Regions from separate parts of the Homo sapiens genome. Here all the other regions are linked to region 1. Evidence: promoter capture Hi-C in human tissues and cell types (Jung and others, 2019). All regions are on one chromosome and are shown on one strand. The core of a region is centred on a gene start or on the middle of the fragment in contact, and the rest is flanking DNA. Distances in the headings are between cores, read along the strand shown.

What was found. The method cuts DNA at HindIII sites, captures the fragments that hold promoters and counts their contacts. A contact is called where the count stands out against the background at its distance.
Region 2: the fragment with the promoter of PLK5 here is called in contact with the fragment with the promoter of LINGO3 in region 1 in 2 of the 25 tissues and cell types used here (lymphoblastoid cells and spleen).
Region 3: a fragment that was not itself captured here is called in contact with the fragment with the promoter of LINGO3 in region 1 in 1 of the 25 tissues and cell types used here (pancreas).
Region 4: the fragment with the promoter of TLE6 here is called in contact with the fragment with the promoter of LINGO3 in region 1 in 2 of the 25 tissues and cell types used here (dorsolateral prefrontal cortex and psoas muscle).
Region 5: the fragment with the promoter of TCF3 here is called in contact with the fragment with the promoter of LINGO3 in region 1 in 2 of the 25 tissues and cell types used here (adrenal gland and spleen).

Annotation. Positions count from the first base shown.
Region 1 is chr19:2,306,882-2,309,435 of GRCh38, reverse strand. LINGO3 (leucine rich repeat and Ig domain containing 3) reads left to right here and starts at 1,282. Exons shown (of 2, transcript NM_001101391.3): 1 at 1,282-1,360. The HindIII fragment of the contact is 18,961 bases long and covers 1-2,554 here.
Region 2 is chr19:1,522,773-1,525,326 of GRCh38, reverse strand. PLK5 (polo like kinase 5 (inactive)) reads right to left here and starts at 1,250. Exons shown (of 14, transcript NM_001243079.2): 1 at 1,081-1,250; 2 at 1-22. The HindIII fragment of the contact is 15,366 bases long and covers 1-2,554 here.
Region 3 is chr19:1,542,163-1,544,716 of GRCh38, reverse strand. No RefSeq gene overlaps it. Among named protein-coding and RNA genes, the nearest start is that of PLK5, 19 kb to the right of the region's middle. The HindIII fragment of the contact is 4,742 bases long and covers 1-2,554 here.
Region 4 is chr19:2,976,277-2,978,830 of GRCh38, reverse strand. It overlaps TLE6 (TLE family member 6, subcortical maternal complex member), which reads right to left and starts at 1,267. Exons shown (of 17, transcript NM_001143986.2): 1 at 1,221-1,267; 2 at 547-633. The coding sequence starts at 597. RefSeq lists a silencer at 1,236-1,545. The HindIII fragment of the contact is 31,192 bases long and covers 1-2,554 here.
Region 5 is chr19:1,651,348-1,653,901 of GRCh38, reverse strand. TCF3 (transcription factor 3) reads left to right here and starts at 1,287. Exons shown (of 19, transcript NM_003200.5): 1 at 1,287-1,602. RefSeq lists enhancers at 549-658, 779-828 and silencers at 1,119-1,168, 1,179-1,308, 1,839-1,918, 2,009-2,238, 2,046-2,268 and 1 more. The HindIII fragment of the contact is 17,847 bases long and covers 1-2,554 here.

The sequences.
Region 1 (2,554 bases), core at 33-2,532:
CGGGAGGTGGAAGTTGCAGTGAGCCAAGATTGCACCACTGCACTCCAGAATGGGTGACGAGAGCAAAACTCCATTTCAAAAAAAAAAAAAAAAAAAAAAGACAAAAAAAAAGGTAAAAAACTTTCCATGAGCACTCGCAGTGCACTTGGTGTGTGCGCTGCTGTGTGCTAGGCGGAAGGCACATTGGGGAACAAGCCCATTAGACAAACTGAGAGGCTCCAAGCTGCTCGATGGAGGGACAGAGAGAAAGGCTGTCCAAGCTGGGCACAGCGAAGATCAAAGGCCTGGGACTGGAGGGACTTGGCCTGTTTGAGGAAGGCTGAGGGGGTGGAGCCCGGGAAAGAGTGAGTGAGGACAGGCCAGGGGGAAGGAGGTGGTGCGGCAGACCAAACAGTGCAGGCAGCCGGGCGGTGGCTCACACCTGTCATCCCAGCACTTTGGGAGGCCGAGGTGGGTGGATCACCCGAGGTCAGGGGTTTGAGACCAGCCTGGCCAACATGCTGAAAATCCGTCTCTAATAAAAATACAAAAATTAGCCGGGCGTGGTGGCGGGTGCCTGTAATCCCAGCTACTTGGGAGGCTGAGGCAGGAGAATCGCTTGAACCCAGGAGGCGGAGGTTGCAGTGAGCCAAGATGGCACCGCTGTACTCCAGCCTGGGCAACAGAGCAAGACTCCATCTCAAAAAAAAAAAGAAAGAAAGAAAGAAAGAAAGAACGAAAGAAAGAGAAATTCCAGGGTAGGTGGGGTGCAGACGGGACCCTCACGGCAATAGGGAATCACGGCAGGTTCTGGAGCCCAGTGGCTAAGCTTCCTCTGAGGGGCTTCCTCTGAGGGCCACATAAGGAATGGGCCTGGGCTGGGCTGTGGCAGATGTCCAGGTGCAGATGGTGGCGGCCTGGACTAGGGGTGGGGGACGGGGGGCAGAGGAGGCGATGGTAGCTTCCAGAAGGTTCCACACGGAACAACCTGCTGCACTTGGGGTGCCCCTGCGTTTATTGCACGGCACGGCCGTCTCCGCAGGCTCACCCAGGCCGTGGGGACAGGAGGTCCTCGGACACGAAGCGCCCGGGATGCGCACGGAGGGGTTCTGCACCCGCGCTCCCAGTGTCCCCGCACCTGCGCCCACGTGGCCTCTCACACCTGCGGCCCCAGCCGCCGCGCACGCGGCCCAGCGCAGCCCCCGCGCGCCCCCGCCAGGCGCGCCGAGGAGACCGGCGGGCGGTTGCGCGCGGCGGCGGCGCGCACGGCGGAGCCCGGGAGGCGGCGGCGGCGGCGGCGGCGGCGGCGGCGGCTGCTCGTGTCGGCTCCGGGCGGCCCCCGCGCCGCAGCCCGCGCCGTGTCCGCGGCGGAGCCGCCCAGGTGAGTGGCCGTGCCGGGGCCCGGCGTGGGGCGCGCCCGCAGACCTGGGGACCCCTCACCTGCACCCTGCGACCCTGCCGCCCAAAGCCCCCAACCCGCGACCCCATCCTCAGCCGGGGGAAATTGCCCCGCGCACCCCTCCCGGGCTCATCGCTCCTTGCCAGGCCCCCGACGCTCCCCCTGGAAACTTTGGGGGCGAACTCCCCACCCTGGGGCCCCCCGCCCCTCCTCTGGGGCGCCAAGGAGCGGGGAATCGGGTGGGCATCTCCCCGGGGCACTGGGGACGCTGGGAGGATGCGCTCCTCTCCAGGAGGAGATGAAGGGGGCACTGGTTGGGTCTGGGGTGTGGGGAACGTCCGAATAGAGCCTGCAGCCCGCGCCTTCCTGCCCTGTCTCCCCCGAGCCGGGTCTGGTCCAGCCTGGGGGTGCGGAGCTGGAAGACGCAAAGGGTATCTGGGGTCCACACCGGAGCCTGCTCCATCGCTGGAGCTGACGGCCCGGCCTGGCGGGGAGGGACCTGGGGGCATAGGGCTGAGTCCCCCTGCTCTGGGGGCGTCTGAATAGCACCAGAAATGGTGGGCCTGGGCACCCTGAGTGGGTGCCGCCACCTCCCGGGCCTCTGGGGCCTGGCCAGGGGAGGCCCTGAGTCCCATTCAACAAGTTTAGGGGAGCAGCACCTCGTGCCTTGGTCCGGGCACAAGAAAAGCCCCGGGTCCTTACGCTGGAGACCACCATGTAACTGGGTTTCTCAACGTGTGCTTGGGGCGCTAACGGTGCCGGTGTCCCGGCCCCCCCAGTTCTGAGGAGTCAGAACTTCTGAGGCGATGTGCCCCAGAAGCTGCATTTTAGCAAGCGGTCCCTGGCTAAACCATGGACGCAGCGAGGCTGCAGACACCCTTGCTCCGGCGGGGGTGGGGAGCGGGCGTCTGCTGTGCAGTGGTATTTGCAGAGGGACGATCTGGGGCTTGGCTGGGGGGAGCCTTCAGGGACAACAGAGCTGTGAGAACCAGAGCAACCCAGGAGGGCTCCCTGGAAGTGGCCTGGAGAGGATGCAGAAGGTGTGAGGTGTGAGTGGTCAGGTGGAGGACGCAGGCTGGAAACAGGTTCAGGGAGGGTGGTGCTGGCTTTATCAGGAGGCTGGTGTGGGGTGGGCTGCCGCGGCATGGCCTTACCCTGGCTGTTCTCTGAGCCGAA
Region 2 (2,554 bases), core at 1-2,500, 780 kb after region 1:
TGTAGCAGCGGCTGAAGGCGCCCTGTGGGGAGGGGTCAGCAGATCAGTGGGCAGGTGTGCACGGGTGTGCAAGCTGGCAGCGCGTACAGAGGCACAGGGCAGCCAGGGACGCAGGCGCGTCCAGGTCTCTCCACACACACACCGGGGAAAAAACAACACACAGCTCCCACCCTCCCGCCTGGACACACAAGACATGATGCACACAAGAAGGCACAGAGACACAGACACAGACACATCCACGCCTGGTGCATAGAGGCCACGGACCAGAAGACAGCACCGGATGCACAACACCACGCCTGAATACGACACACAAACACGCAACGCCCAGACACAGAGTCACCATGCATGGACACACAACACAACACCCAGATACACAACGCAGCAACACACAAACACATGAATATACAATGTCTGGACACACAGTCACCACGTGTGGACACACAACACAATACCCAGACACAGCACAGGAACACACAAACACATGAACACACAACACCTGGACACACAGTACAACACATGGACAAAGACACAGATACAAACACATGAACACACAACTCCTAGACACACCACATATGAACACACAAACACACAAGCACACCACATGAACACACAACACCCAGACACACAACACAATGACTGGACACACAAAGGCATGACGCACAAACAACAGGTGAACAAGCAACACAACACCCAGACACACACACACACACACACACACACACACACGAACACCGCACAGCACCCAGACACTTGGAAGCAGCGGGCACAGACGCGGCACACTCAGACCCTCGCCAGGCTCGCACACACACCCAGGGGCAACACAGCGTCGCATCCCGAGGCCGAGCCGCACGCCCACACCCCGGACACGCAACCCACGGACACGACGCACAGCGCGCTCAACACGGTTCCCGCCATGCGAAACCCCGCACGGGAGGCCCCGCGGCTCCGGACGCGCGCCCGCTCCAGACCCCGCGCTCGCAGGGACGCGCCGCGTAGACCGCGCAGGATCGCCCGCGCGCCCCGGGACCCCAGCCCAGCCCGGTCCGGCCCCGTCGCGGACTCGGGGCGCGGGCCTCCCACCTTGCCGATCAGCTTCCCGCGCCTGTACACGCGGCCCGAGCCCGGGTCTCGCAGGAAGGCGGCGACCAGGGGGCGACTCCTGCGCCGCCGCCGCGGCCGGGGCTCCATCGCGCGGACTCTGGCGCAGCCGGGCCGAGACCACCGCGCTGCGGCCGCTCCGGGGCCGCTCTGAGGGCGCAGGAGCCGCCGGGGAGCGTTTTATTGGCCGCGGGGGCGGGGAGGGGGCGGAGCCCGGGCGCAGGTCCAGCCCGGGGAGGGGCGGGAGGTGCCCGGCCGTGGAGTGGGGGGCGCGTGAGCGGCGGGGACGCCGCGGCTGGGGAAGTTCCACGGACCAGAGCGCGCCCGAGTCCCGCACGCCAACCGGGCGCCAGGGGCCGCGCTCAGCCCGCGAGCTCCTCCGACCCTGCACACCCGGGCTGGCTGGGAACCGCTGATACGCCCGCTTTACCGAGCGGGAAACTGAGGCTCTCTCGCGCGTGGGGGGTTGGGGGCTTCCGGGGGCTTCTCCCCCACAGTGCGCTTGAGGTATGAGCCTCGACGTTCTGAATGTGTGCCATTTCGGGTCCTCCCTGCTGGCGGGTCCCTGGGGCCCACATGAAAACCTGGGGCTTGATGGCCCTGGGCACTGGGGAGCCACAGCAGAATTCGGAGCGGCAGAGAAGCCCAGCGTTTGTGATGCTGGGGCTGGTGGGGAGGGCGGTGAGGCCTGGGACAGGGACCCAGGAGGCAGGACCGGGGCTTGGGGACGCATGGGCTGGGGTCCTACAGTGTAGTGGATGTCCCATATGAGGGAGCTTCAGCCCGGAGAAGGGATGGGCTGTGTGGAGCAGCAGGTGGACCCTGGCTGGGGTTTGCACGGACAGCCAGGTGGGGACGTCCTTGAAATGGCGACCTCAGAGAGCATCAGAAACCTCAGAGAACTCAGAGAACAGCTGGGTGGGAAGACAGTGGGGGGCTTGAGACTCCCCCGGAATCGTGGGGGTGGTTGCTCCAAGCCCTGCCCCAGACTCAGGTGCACCCCTTTCCTGGTGAGGTCTTCCCTCACCCTTCCACCCAGCCTGGGACACAAAAACGGGCCTTGTCCCCATTGTACAGGCAAGACATTGAGACCCAGGGACGCAAAGTCGCTCAGTCAGCCCAGGAAAGGGCAGCGCTGGGTTTGAATCCCGGCAGCCGCCCCTGGACGCCTGCGGTATTAATCCCCAAATGTTACATAACACCAGGAATGGGGAGGGGTTACCAGGCTCCGTGGGGCTGGAATTTTCCAGGGACCAGATTTCGGAATCTGGCCCGGCCACACCACTAGGGACAGGAAACACCTTCTGAGCCGTCACGTGTCCACCTGGTGTCACGAATGGGGCCCCCGTGCATTGGACGGGGCTGAGCTCGGGCACCTTTGCGGGGTTTCTGGTCCCAGGGCCAGGGCGGAAGATTCCTGGCCAGCCTGGGGCCACCGGGTTGCAGCTGGGGAGCC
Region 3 (2,554 bases), core at 16-2,515, 760 kb after region 1:
ACAACAACAACAAAAAATTAGCCGGGCGTGGTGGCGGGCACCTGTAGTCCCAGCTACTCGGGAGGCTGAGGCAGGAGACTCGTTTGAACCTGGGAGGCGGTGGTTGCACTGAGCCTAGAACACACCACTGCACTCTCGCCTGGGCAACAGAGTGAGACTCCATCTCAAAACAAAAACAAAACAAAACAAAACAAAACAAAAACGGGTGTGGTGGCTCACGCCTGTAATCACAGCACTTTGAGAGTCCAAGGCAGGTGAATCACGAGGTCAGGAGTTCGACAGCAGCCTGGCCAACATAGTGGAACCCCATCTCTACTAAAAATACAAAAATTAGTCGGGCGTGGTGGTGGGCGCCTGTAATCCCAGCTACTCCGGAGGCTGAGGCAGGAGAATCGCTTGAACCCCAGAGGCTGCAGTGAGCTGAGATCACAAAATTGCACTCCAGCCTGGGGTGCATTAAGGACACTCCATCTCTAAAAAACATATAAGTAAGATTTCACATGGATACAATCCATCAATCTTACTCAGGATTCCTCAGTTTAACTTGTGATCGTGTGTGTGAGTGTGTGAGATGTCTTTAGTCTCCTATAATTTGCTGGCCTGGGTAGATTCGTGTATCCACCATCATGACATGGAGCATTTCCATCACCATCAGGATCTCTTGCTGTTTGTGCACCCTCCCCGCACCCTCATCCCTAACCCTAATTCCATTTCTAAAATGTTACATAAACTTTTTTTGTTCTTTACACAGGGTCTTGCTCTGTTGCCCAGGCTGGACTCCAGTGGTGCAACTACAGCTCACTGCAACCTACATGAACTCCTGGGTTCAAGGCATCCTCCTGCCTCAGTCGCCCAAGCAGCTAGGACTACAGGTGTGCATCATCATCCTTGGCTTATTTATTTATTTATTTATTTATTTATTTTGAGACGTAGTCTTGCTCTGTCGCCCAGGCTGGGGTGCGGTGGCGCCATCTCGGCTCACTGCAAGCTCCGTCTCCCCGGGTTCACGCCATTCTCCTGCCTCAGCCTCCCGAGTAGCTGGGACGACAGGCACCCGCCACCACGCCCGGCTAATTTTTTGTATTTTTAGTAGAGACAGGGTTTCACCGTGTTAGCCAGGATGGTCTCGATCTCCTGACCTCCTGATCCGCCCGCCTCGGCCTCCCAAAGTGCTGGGATTATAGGCGTGAGCCACCGCGCCTGGCCTTAATTTTCTAATTTTTTATAGAGATGGGGTCTCACTATGTTCCCCAGGGTGGTCTGGAACTCCTGGGCTCAGGTGATCCTCCCACCTCAGCCAACTGAGTAGCTGGGACCACAGGCACACCCCACTATGCCCGGCTAATTTTTTTTTTTTTTTTTTTTTCCCGAGACGGAGTCTCACTCTGTCACCCAGGCTGGAGTGCAGTGGCGTGATCTAGGCTCACTGCAACCTCCGCCTCCGTGGTGAAAGTGATTCTCCTCCCTCAGCTCCCCGAGTAGCTGGGACTACAGGCGCCCGCCACCACGCCCGGCTAATTTTTGTATTTTTAGTAGAGATGGGGTTTCACCATGTTGGCCAGGCTGGTCTCGATCTCTTGACCTTGTGACCCGGCTGCCTCGACCTCCTTAAGTGCGGGGATTACAGGCGTGGGCCACCGCGCCCGGCCGGGACAGGCTTTTTTCACTCAGCGTAATTCTCTGGAGTCATCAGGAGTTTGAAAACTCCCCGTGGGACCCAGGTTGACCTACCTACCAGCACCCCATTTTTTCATAGATTGAGAACCAGCGCCTCAGTGTCCCCATCTGTATAGTGGGAGAGAAAAGGTCCCTGCTCCCGGGGCCTTGCCAAGGTGCAAGGAAGCTTTATGACGTCACACACAGTTACCACGGGCAACAGCCAATCCTGCTGGCCCCAGAGGTAGCCGCCCTTGGTCCCGCCCACGCCTTGCTTGCTTGCTGGTGATTGGAGGACGCATGATGTCACGTGCTCCCATAGACCAATGAGGAGGTGGTCTGGAGGCTGGGTTCAGCTGTAGCCTCAGCGTGGGAAAAAGGGTAAAACGGAACTTTGGGGCCGGGCGCTGGGGCTCACGCCTGTAATACCAGCACTTTGGGAGGCCGAGGCGGGTGGATCCCCTGAGGTCGGGAGTTCGAGACCAGCCTGGCCAACATGGTGAAACCCCGTCTCTACTAAAAGTAGAAAATTTATCCGGGCATGATGACGCCTGTAGTACCAGCTACTTGGGATCCTGAGGCACGAGAAAAATCTCCTGAACCAGGGAGTCGGAAGCTGCAGTGAGCCGAGAGCACGCCACTGCACTCCAGCCTGAGTGACAAGAGCGAGACTTTGTCTTAAAAAATAAAACTGAGCTTTGGAAATTCTTGCCAGGACAAGTTTTCCCTCTCTCAGGGTTAAATCAGTGGTTTCCAAAAAGAAAAAGAAGGAGAAGGAAGGAGGAGGAGAAAGAGGAAGAGAAGGGAGTAGGGAGAAGAAGGAAGAAGAAGGGAAGAAAGAAAAAAAAATCTTTGAGCCAGGGCTGGAGTGAATTCATGACCATTTCTTGAAGTTCCA
Region 4 (2,554 bases), core at 18-2,517, 670 kb before region 1:
TTGTAAAACATCAACCAAATACATGATGTGTTCCTGTGTTTTTATCACATATGTGATTAGATGCTACATTTTTTTTTAGATGGGATCTCACTGTCACCAAGGATGGAGTGCAGTGGCACCATCATAGTTCACTGCAGCCTCAAACTCCTTGGGCTCAAGCCAACCCTCTGCCTCAGCCTCCCAAGTAGCTGCAACTACAGGCCCACGTCACTAGGCCCAGCTGATTCTTCTAGTTTTATTTTTTACAGAGACAGGGTCTCACTACGTTGTCCAGGCTGGTTTCAAACTCCTGGGCTCAAGTGGTCCTCCTGCCTCGGCCTCCAAAAATGTTGAGATTACAGTTGTGAGCCACAGTGTCCAGCCTACACTTAATTTTTTTTAAAAAACACGGCTCCTTGGCACCTGTCTTGAGTGTAGCAGCGACCAGTATTGTCTTCAGCTGCGAGGCCTGGGCGGGGCCAGCCCAGGTCACAGGTGGAAAAGGGGCAGAACCACATTGGGCCCGGGTTTCCCTTGAGGGCTGATCCCACCACATGCCCTCCTCACCGAAGTGCTTTTCGGGGGGCCCTTGGGTCTGGGCTGGTCCCTAGAGGTCATCTTCAAGGCAGTAGCCTCCAAGACTTTAGCCAGAGTCTAAAACAACAAGGAGACGGCAGGTCTTGAGGGACAGAAAATAAGGCAGTGCCAGGGAAGCAAGGCACCCGTTACCCCACCCGCACCTCCCAGTTTGGTAAGTCTCCAGGGACCCAATCCTGCGGTTCTCCCATGCGTTCCCTAGGTCCTGTCCTCACTTATCAATGCCTCCAGCTGCCCAGATTCATGGGGGCGGGGACCCAGAAAGAACTGAGCCTTGCCTCCCAGGCCTCACCCTAGGAGGCTGGGGTGGATAGTGCACATACACTCCCTGCTGGGGGCAGTCAGGGACGGGGGAGCCCAGGGAAGGTCGCCAAAGCTCAACCTTAGTTTTGAGACAATTTCCTAAAGCGCAGGGAGATCACTAGAAAGGGGTTTTGAAGGATGACTAGGAGTTAGCCAGGTGCATTAGGCGGAATTCATCAGACAGAAGAAACGACCTCTCTCCACCTCCATCCCTGCTGCAGCACCCAGCTTCTTCCTTGCCTCAGTCCTGCCCCTCCACGCCCCTGCAGCCCCTTCCCCGGCCGGGAATCCTGGAGTCCCCCCAGCCCCCTAGAACACGCCTGGCAACTCACGTCCCTCACCGGGCGGAAGCTGCGGAGGTCAGCCAAGTTCAGGCCAAGAGGAAACTCCTCCTTCCCCCACCGGGGGCCATTTGACCCATCGGGCCCCGCCTCGTCCCGCCTTGTCCCCGCCCCGTCCCGCCCAGGCCCCACCCAGCCGCCACCTGGACCGCGAAGCAGATCAATGAAGGCGCAGTAGCTGCACGTGGGTTCGGGCTCCGGGGGGGGCAGGCCTCTGGCGGCGCCGGCCAATAGCGAGGCCGTTTACGCACGTGGGTCGCGTACGCCCTCCCTGATTGGTCGGCTCTCCCCGGCCGCCGGCCATGCTGTCACTCAGCGAGCCGGGAGCCTCTGCTTTACCCTTTCGGTCCCGCTGCCGGGAAGGGCGGACTTGCAGAGCTATAGGCAATTTGGGGTCCCAGCGGGGGCGGGGATATTTAGGAGGGCGTGGGGCTTGAGGCTCAGAGGCTGGAACTTGGGCAGGGATAGGTGGCGAGTAGTTGCATTGTTTTACGCATTTTTAGCCTTGTCCGGAAGTGGCTTATGGCTGGAGGTGAGGAGTGGGAGGTGGGTGGGTTCAATCTTTAGCGCTGTCACCCCAATTCTTAGATACGGGCTAATTACATTTTCCTCAATATTAAATAACGTGCAATGCAAACGAAGCTTCAAGTCCTCTTTCTGGAGCCAACTTACTGGGTCCCCTTGATGGTCCCAGCCCCGGGCTATGCATTTATCACCGAATTTTCCCAACTGCTCTTCCAGCCCAGTGACAAAGGCTCTGAGAGCAGAAAGCGGGACAGCAGAGGCCCTGAGGCTGATACAGTATTGCCGGATGCAAGCGCGGGGTGGGAGAGAGTGGTGGGTATTCCAGACGGAGGGAATAGCGGAACCTCTCAGGCAGAGCTGGGCTGGTTACAGGAGCAGCCAGGGAGGCTAACGGGGCTGCGTGCACTCCGAACAGGCCTGGGATGATTTCCGAGAGGTAAGTGGGTTGCTGCAGAGCGAGAGAAACCTGCTGTGTGGGGTCGTGGGGATAGGAGTAAGGGGATTTCGGAGTTTTGTTTTGGCCTATTCAAAATATGAAGCCAAGTCACCATGGCTCACACCTGTGATCCCAGCATTTTGGAAGGCTGAGGTGGGAGGATTGCTTGAGGCCAGGAGTTGGAGACCAGCCTGGGCAACACAGTGACACCGCGTCTCTACAAAAAATTTAAAAATTAGCCAAGTGTGGTGGTCATGCACCTGTAGTCTCAGCTACTGGGGAGGCTGAGGCAGGAGGATGGCGTAAGCCCAGGAGGTTGAGTCTGGAGTGAGCTATGATCGTGCCACTGCACTCCAGTCTGAGCAACAGAGCA
Region 5 (2,554 bases), core at 38-2,537, 660 kb after region 1:
TATTTTGAGACGGAGTTTCGTCCTTGTTGCCCAGGCTGGAGTACAATGGCGTGCTCTCGGCTCATTGCAACCTCCGCCTTTCGGGTGAAAGCGATTCTGCTGCCTCAGCCTCCCGAGTAGCTAGGACTACAGGTGCCCGCCACCATGCCCGGCTAATTTTTGTATTTTTAGTAGAGATGGGGTTTCACCGTGTTGGCCAGAGAGGTCTCGAACTCCTGACTTCAGGTGATCTGCCCGCCTTGGCCTCCCAAAGTGCTGGGAATACAAGCGTGGGCCACCGCGTCCGGTCAACTTTTTAAATTATTATTTTAAATTATTTTAAATATTTTTAGAGACGGGTGTGGGTGGGGGGGGTTTCACTATGTTGTTCAGGCTGTTCTCGAACTCCTGGCCTCAAGCGATCTTCCCGCCTCGGCCTCCTTCAAAGCGCTGGGATCACAGGCAGGAGCCACGGCGCCCGATCCTAGGCGGGGTCACTTTTTACTAAAATGTAGACACGGACTACTAAGAATCAGGAAGCCAGATCTGGCCTGAGTTCTGTCCAAAGTCAGGTCCAAATTCACAGATGCCGAGACGGAGACTCAAGTCGGCAAAGGCACCGCTGAGACTCCCCGCGGGGCTCTCTGACCCAGAGCCGGAGCCAGAGTCGGTTTTCCCGCCGGGAAAATGGGTCTGACGTAGCCCCCTCGGGGCCGTGATACCCGCTCGCACCACTCAGCACGCGGGGCCGGCCCGAGGAACGCAAATATAACCAAGCAGAAGGCTCCGCGCGGGCGGCCACGCCAACCTGAGAACAAAACTCCAGGACCCACCCCGGCCGCCTCTCGCGGCCTCTCGCTCGCAGAGTCCCGCCTCTGCTGAGGGGCGGGGCCGAGAAGAAAGGAGGCGGGGCCTCACCACGAATGGCTAGGATCCCCGCCCATCAGACTTTCGCGGCTTCCGATTGACCAGACTGCTCTGCCTTAGCTTTCAATCTCACGGGCCTTACTCGCTTGCGTCATGGACTAAGCGCACAGCTCGTGTGTGCTTCCGCGGACGGGGATAGTCCGTGATTTCTCCCCGCGCCGTGGCCCGACCGCCTCCTCTGCGCGTCCCCGCTCCCAGGCTCTGGACCTCACGGGATTCGGGGTCCTCACGAGGGTGCTCGAGAGGCCGAGCTAGGGCGTTCGGGCCCGAGCCGCCCGGAGGTGGCGGAGGGATCCGCGTGGGCCGCCGGGCGGGGCACTCGGGGGCGGGGCAGGGGCGGGGCCTGCACGGGGCGGGGCGGGGCGGCGCGGGCGGGGGGCGGAACATGTCTCCCGCCGCAGGAAGATGAGGCAGCGGCGGCGGCTGCGGGCGTAGCGGGCCGGAGCCGACGCGGCGGCGGGCACCGCGGGCACCGCGCACGCCGCTGCCCCAGGGGCGCCCCGGCCGGCCGCGCGCACGGGCCCCGCGGGACGGGCCACGCGGGGGTGGGAGGGGCCCGGGCCACGCGCGCCGCCGCCGCCGCCCACGCGCGACCCTCGGGGGCCCGGCCGCGACGCACCTTTGTCCGGGGGGGGGCCCCCCCGCTTCATGCCGCCGCCCCCCCCCACGCGCCGCGTGCCCGGCCGCGCCCAGCAGGTGAGCCCGGCGGGGGGCGGGGGGCGCGCCCGGTACCCCCGTGCTTTGTGCCCAGGGAACCCCGGCCCGCCCCGCGCGCGCTTGTTGGGGGGGGGCGCGGAGGAAGTTGGGGCGGGGGCGGTGTCGGGGGGCGCCCCGCGGCCCGGGAGTCATTGTTCTCCAACTTCGCGCGGCGCCGGGGGGGCGGCGACGTGGAGGAGCCCGGAGCTCGCCAGGCCCGCGTCGCCCCCGTCGGGCCGGGCACTTCGGGAAACTTTAAGCAGCCCCGGGCGGGGGCGCGGGGGGCGCCGGACGGGCTGTGCAACTTAGGCGCGAGGACCGTCCCCCCCAGCCCGGGCGCACGGGGACCCCGGGGCGCCCCCTTTCTCGGGTAGAGGGGGGCCCGGCCCGGGCGCCGGAGTTTGGGGTGGGGAGCGCGCGGGAGGGACGTCCTTTTGTCTGCGCGGGGAAGGTGCCGCGCGCTGCAGGCGCTGGTCGGGGCCGGGCGGGCCGGGGGGGGGCGCGCGGGTAACATCTGCTCCGCGTTAATGCGGGGCGAGGCGGCGGCCGCGCTGCGAGCTTCAAAGGCTCCCGGGCCGCACCGCCTGCACCGGCTGCGGGGGGAGGGGGGTCCGGCTTCCCGGGCCGCCTCCCCCCGGGAAAAAGGCGTTCCAGCGCGCCCCCCGCCTTCGGCGCCGTGCAAAGTGGCTTCAAACATTCTCCAAGTCTCTCAAAGTCCTTGGGACGCCCCAGAAGTCTTCCAGCTCCCGTAGAATGCCCGTTTTAGCTCGCCACCCCCCCAACTAAGTCTGTCTTAAAATCGGTTTCAGCTACCCCACAAAAAAGTGCGGTTTCGTAGTCCTCAAAAAAAGTCAGTTTCACACGCCCTCCAAAAAAGAAAAAAACTGAGCGGGGGAGGGGCTGCGCTGGGGCGCCCGCTTCACACCCGGCCTCCAGTTGGCAGACAAAGAGG